Regions from separate parts of the Homo sapiens genome. Here region 2 is linked to region 1. The links are contacts of gene promoters, found by promoter capture Hi-C in human tissues and cell types (Jung and others, 2019). All regions are on one chromosome and are shown on one strand. The core of a region is centred on a gene start or on the middle of the fragment in contact, and the rest is flanking DNA. Distances in the headings are between cores, read along the strand shown. Region 1 holds the start of CYP1A2 (cytochrome P450 family 1 subfamily A member 2). Region 2 overlaps LINC02255 (long intergenic non-protein coding RNA 2255).

Region 1 (2,635 bases), core at 77-2,576:
GAGGGCATTCTGGGCCAGGCGCCGGCGGGCAGCCCACACCGGTCCAGAGTCTGTGCTGAAGGTCAAGCTCTGGCCATCAGTGATGAGGGTGGAGGTGTAGAGGTCAGGCCGGCCCTTGAAATCGTCGCCCTGCCGCACCAGGGCCTGCCGGATGGTGTCCAGGCGGCTCAGCACCAGCACGGGCGTGGAGCCAATGCGGATCTGCAGGACGTCCCCGTAGCGCTGGCTCATCCTTGACAGTGCCAGGTGCGGGTTCTTCCCCAGGGTCAGCACATGCCCGAGCAAGGGCCAGCCCCATGGCTCTGGTGGACTTTTCAGGCCTTTGGGGACCCGAGGCCTCAAACCCTTGAGCACCCAGAATACCAGGCAGAAGATGGCAGAGGCCAGGAGAAGCTCTGTGGCCGAGAAGGGAACAGACTGGGACAATGCCATCTGTACCAACTGCAGGGAAAAAAGGAGGGACCAGGCTGAGGGTTGAGATGGAGACATTCATTCATTCATTTCCTCAGTCATTTGATAAACACTGATGCGTGTTCTGTGCTTGGCTCCCAGCTGGATACCAGAAAGACTAAGCTCCATCTACCATGCGTCCTGGGCCCACAGAGCTCACCCTTTGAGCATCACAGAATCTGAGAGCTGGAAAGGAGCCTCAAGATTCCCAACATGAACGCTGGCTCTCTCCTCCACACATCATCTCAGTTTCCACTTCTGGGGCTGGAGTAGAGGCAAGTGACCACTCCAAAATGGGGAAGCCAAGGACAGCACCCTTGTCAGCCCCTGGCACAGCATGCATGCTGGGTATTGTACCAAAGAGTCCCTGCCAGTGCTGGCTTTCTGCTGATACCTTCCATATACCCAAGGGACCAGGAGTTCCCCCTACCCAGTGACACTGAGGTGGCCAAGGTCCCAGGGCTGGTTCAAATAGCCTGTGATGCCCCCTCCCCAGGGCATTCTTTATCAATACCAGGAGGGGCACCTCCTCCAGGGATGAGTCCCCATCCTCTCACAGTCTTGGAGGTTGGGGTTGGGCTTCAGCCAGGGCCAGGGCTGCCCTTGTGCTAAGGGGGAAGCCCTCCCCATCGCTCTCCTTAAAAATGGCTTAGTCCAAACTGCTCATTTAAAATCGGGAAACAGAAGTCAAGAGCTGGGTAGCAAAGCCCGGAACTCAGGACCCCTACACCTAGCCCAGGCTCCCCGTCTTTCTGTCCCCACTAGCTTCCAGGTTCTATAGTTGGGGATCCCAGAGATTGTAAATTGGTCCCAAGAAAGGTACCTGTAGAGGCAGGTGCTTGAGATTGGCAGGGTTGTAATGGCTGGTGTGGAGCTTCTGGCTCTAGGTGAGTGGCCTTTTTATAAACACCGCCCCCTATCAGATTGGCCTGGTTGTCCTGATCACCTGATATGAAAGCTGGATCACTGAACAAAGTTGGAAGGATCAACTCTTGGCCTTGGGCCATTATCCCTCAGCTCCACCTACTACCTAAGACCCAGGGTGACTCTTTGGGGATAGGCCAGAAGGGGTGCTGGGTCCCTGGGGATGAAGGTACAGCTGTCTTTAGGGTTCAGGGTAGGGAGCCTATTTCTCTGAAGAGTAGGGTAGGGTCTGGGAGTGGGGGTTAGGCCTTTGGACTGATCTGGGCTTCTTTCCCACTGCACACATGAGGAAGAGCTCTGCCAGGGCACTCAGTCTAGGCCAACCAGGCTCACGGCCCCTCTCCAGAGGGATGTTCTTCTGTAGTACCCTCCAACAACCTGCAAAACCAAACAGTAAATGGGCGTGTTCCAGCCACTCCTGATTTTCAGCCCAAGTCCCCAAGTGGAAAAGAAGAGATGATAAAGATTTTGCATCCTAAAGAGAGGCCCCCCTTATGCAAAAAGACTAAGAGACATAACCAAATGCAATATGGATTTGCATTTGATTGCCATATCGATTGGATATGGCATTTAAACAAAATTTTAAAAAAATCTATAAAAGATGTTTTGGGGACAATTGGGGACATGTAAGCACGGACTGGAGATTAGATGATATTCTGGAATAAATGTAAATTTTTTTAGGTGTGAACAGAGTGTCATGGTATGTGGGAGTGTATCCTTATTCTTAGGAGATTAATGCTGTAGCATGGAAGTGTCATGATCCCCACAACCTCCTTTTGAATGGTTCTGTTAAAAAATGTACACCTCTAGGCCAGGCGCGATGGCTCGCACCTGTAATCCCAGCACTTTGAGAGGCCGAGATGGGCGGATCACCTGAGATCAGGTGTTCAAGACCAGCCTGGCCAACCTGGTGAAACTCCGTCTCTACTAAAAATACAAAAATTAGCCAGGCATGGTGGCATGTGCCTGTGATCCCAGCTACTCGGGAGGCTGAGGCAGGAGAATGGCTTGAACTTGGGAGGTGGAGGCTGCAGTGAGCCAAGATCGTGCCACTCCACTCCAGCCTGGGCGACAGAGTGAGACTCCGTCTCAAAAAAAAAAAAAATGTACACCTTTAAAGAGTGTAATTGGATTGTTTGTAACTCAAAGGTTTATCCTTGCTTGAGGGGATGGATACTCCATTCTCCATGAATGCTTATTTCATATTGCATGCCTGTATCAAAACATTTCATGTACCCCATACATATATACACCTACTATG
Region 2 (2,635 bases), core at 63-2,562, 360 kb after region 1:
GGCTGCCAAGAAGCCTCTGTGACCTGGTAAATTCCTGATCTCTTCATCTATCTTGGGTACCGGTTTGGTTTCCTTGAATGCTTGAGGTTCCTTTCACTCTCACGGACATATGACAGAGTTCTTCCATCTCCCGTCACAGGCACTTCATGCAGGGCCCCACGCTACCATCGTGGGCTTCCTCATTCTTGCTTTGAAGGTCATGACCTCCTGGAGGCCCAGGAAGGGACATGAACCCTAATCCCCCTGGCTGGACCATTGGCTCCCTGAAGGCAGGAACCAAGTCCCAAAGCTTCATTCCCCATTTCTTTTCAGAGCCGACTCAGTCCTGGTGCCTAGGGGTGGATGGTGGGGGTCATCCCAGGAGGCACAGGTCCTGTAAGAAAGGAAGTAGCACCTACTGAGCTTTTGTTTGTTTGTTTGTTTTTGTTTTTGAGGTGGAGTCTCACTCTGTCACCCAGACTGGAGTGCAGCAGCGCGATCTTGCCTCACTGCAAACTCCACCTCCCGGGTTTAAGCTGTTCTCCTGCCTCAGCCTCCTGAGTAGCTGGGATTACAGGCGCACGCCACCACATCCAGCTAATTTTTTGTGTTTTTAGTAGAGACGGGGGTTTCGCCATGTTGGCCAGGCTGGTCTTGGACTCCTGACCTCAAGCAATCTGCCCACCTTGGCCTCCTAAAGTGCTGGGATTACAGGCGTGAGCCACCTTGCCTGGCGTTTGGATGAGCCAGGCTCTAGCACCATCTCCCCCACTCCTTTACAGGAACCCTCTGAGGACGATGTTACTGTCAGCACCCCCATTTTACAGGTGAGGGAATGAAGGTGACATAGCTGGCTTCCAGCCCTCATCTCTGAGCCCAGAGCCTGTACGCTGTACACTCGAGCAGGCAGAGACTGCACAAGCAGAGAGCAGGCCTCTGTGGGTCACGACAGGGGAGCCAGGTCAGCCCCGTCACGCATGGGCCCCCAGCACTGGCTGGCAGCCCCCCTCGGGGGCCAATCCCGAGTCCCCACTGGGAGGTCCAGCAGTGAGTGCTCCATGGTGCCCTGGTGACGGGGGGGGCCTGTGAGGCAGGCCGTGAGCCAAATGTCCCCACACAGCCTATCTCAGGCCACTCACAGAAAAGGAAAGAAAATATCTTGAGATCTTTTCTGGCCTTATCAGCCCCACACAGAGGCCCCGCTGTGGTGTGGTAACAGGGTCCGTGAGTGTGTGCTCAGATAAGCGCCAGGCGTTTCTGAGAACCTGCAAGGCACCGTCCTGAGTTCCCCCTCTCTAGAACATTCTTCTTCCACATGCTGCACAACTGGTTCCCTTAGGTCCTCAGGGCATATTCTTAGAGAGGCCCTCCTTGACCAGCCTTCTCAACCCCTTGCCCTCCCCTCCTGCCTCCAGCTTCGTCTCCCTCCTGGACACTCCCCGTCTCTGGGAGCCTCCTGCGGGTTCCTGGCTGGTGTCTGTTTTCCCAGCATGAGGGAAGCTCCTGGAGGGCAAGAGGCACATCTGTCTGGGCCTCGGGATCCTGGTGCTGCTCAGTAATGTCCATTGCCAGAGTGAGGCAGGGAAGGAGGTCTCAGCCCTAAGGTGTTCTTGGCATAGGGCCTGGCCTATGCGTGTATTTTATCTAATCCCTCTAACGACTTTACAAGGCAAAATTTATTATCTTCATTTCATAAATGAAGGAGCTCAGAATATAAAGCAGCTTGTGGGAGATCACAGAGAGTGTTAGTGGAAATTTGAACCAGGGGGGTCTGTGAGGCTCCAAAGAGGTGGGTGATGCCCCCTGAGCTGAAGGGGTGGGGCAGGAGACCCGTCCTAGCCTGGGCTCAGCTGCAGCCTCGCTCTGGGACTGTGGGCCGCAGGCTTCTCTTTGTATACTGGGGCTGGGGTCGCTCCCTGAGCTAAGATCCTGGCTCCAATGGAAGAAAGGTGATTTGCAGTGAGGGGGGTGAGGGGGCTTGGAGCCTCGGAGGAAGGGGTTGAAGCTGGGTAGGGAACAAGGGGCAGGATCCTCCTGAGGTGCCAGCATGGGAAACCGTGGGGGAAGGGCTTGGCCACAGGAATGAACTCAAAAAAGGGATCGAAGCACCCTGAGCTCCGAGCTGGATGCACAGGTGGGTGAGCCTTGGAAGCAGGAGGGACCTCCAGGGGGAGGGCACAGCAGCCGCATCCAGGCTGGGTGTCCCTGGGCCACAAGCTCAGCCTCTCTGTGGCTTTCCCAGCTTCAAGCAGAAGCTCAACCCTGGGAGAAGCGCTCTCTCGGGTTCCCCTGCTCCTAGCCCCAAGGACCCAGCCTGCTAGGTCCCACCAGCCCTGAAGCTAGGTCCACAGGTGCATATGGGCTCCCTCGGCTGCTGGCTTCCTGCCCAGCCCTCCTTCGGCAGCGCTCACTGGCTGGAGAGCAGGGGTCTCCTGAGGGGTGGGGCAGGGGCCAGGGCTTGCCCTCTGATCCTACCCCTAACATTGCCTGGGCCCAGGGCAGGAGTAAAAATGGAGGCCCACATACTATATGTCTGGATATTTCAAAGTTATAAATCAAGCCAACAACCTCTAAATAGGATATGCTCTATCCTCCTACATTAGCAAATACACCTTCATAACACCCTGAGGACCAGGTTTGTACTTAGAATTCTTGG

Evidence for each region. The method cuts DNA at HindIII sites, captures the fragments that hold promoters and counts their contacts. A contact is called where the count stands out against the background at its distance.
Region 2: a contact is called between a fragment that was not itself captured here and the fragment with the promoter of CYP1A2 in region 1, in 1 of the 25 tissues and cell types used here (ovary).

What each region holds. Positions count from the first base shown.
Region 1 is chr15:74,747,536-74,750,170 of GRCh38, reverse strand. CYP1A2 (cytochrome P450 family 1 subfamily A member 2) reads right to left here and starts at 1,326. Exons shown (of 7, transcript NM_000761.5): 1 at 1,274-1,326; 2 at 1-441. The coding sequence starts at 432. RefSeq lists promoters at 433-1,570, 1,236-2,635. The HindIII fragment of the contact is 12,167 bases long and covers 1-2,635 here.
Region 2 is chr15:74,388,257-74,390,891 of GRCh38, reverse strand. LINC02255 (long intergenic non-protein coding RNA 2255) reads right to left here. Exons shown (of 4, transcript NR_146881.1): 3 at 1-373. Among named protein-coding and RNA genes, the nearest start is that of LINC02255, 10 kb to the right of the region's middle. RefSeq lists an enhancer at 2,157-2,635. The HindIII fragment of the contact is 9,087 bases long and covers 1-2,635 here.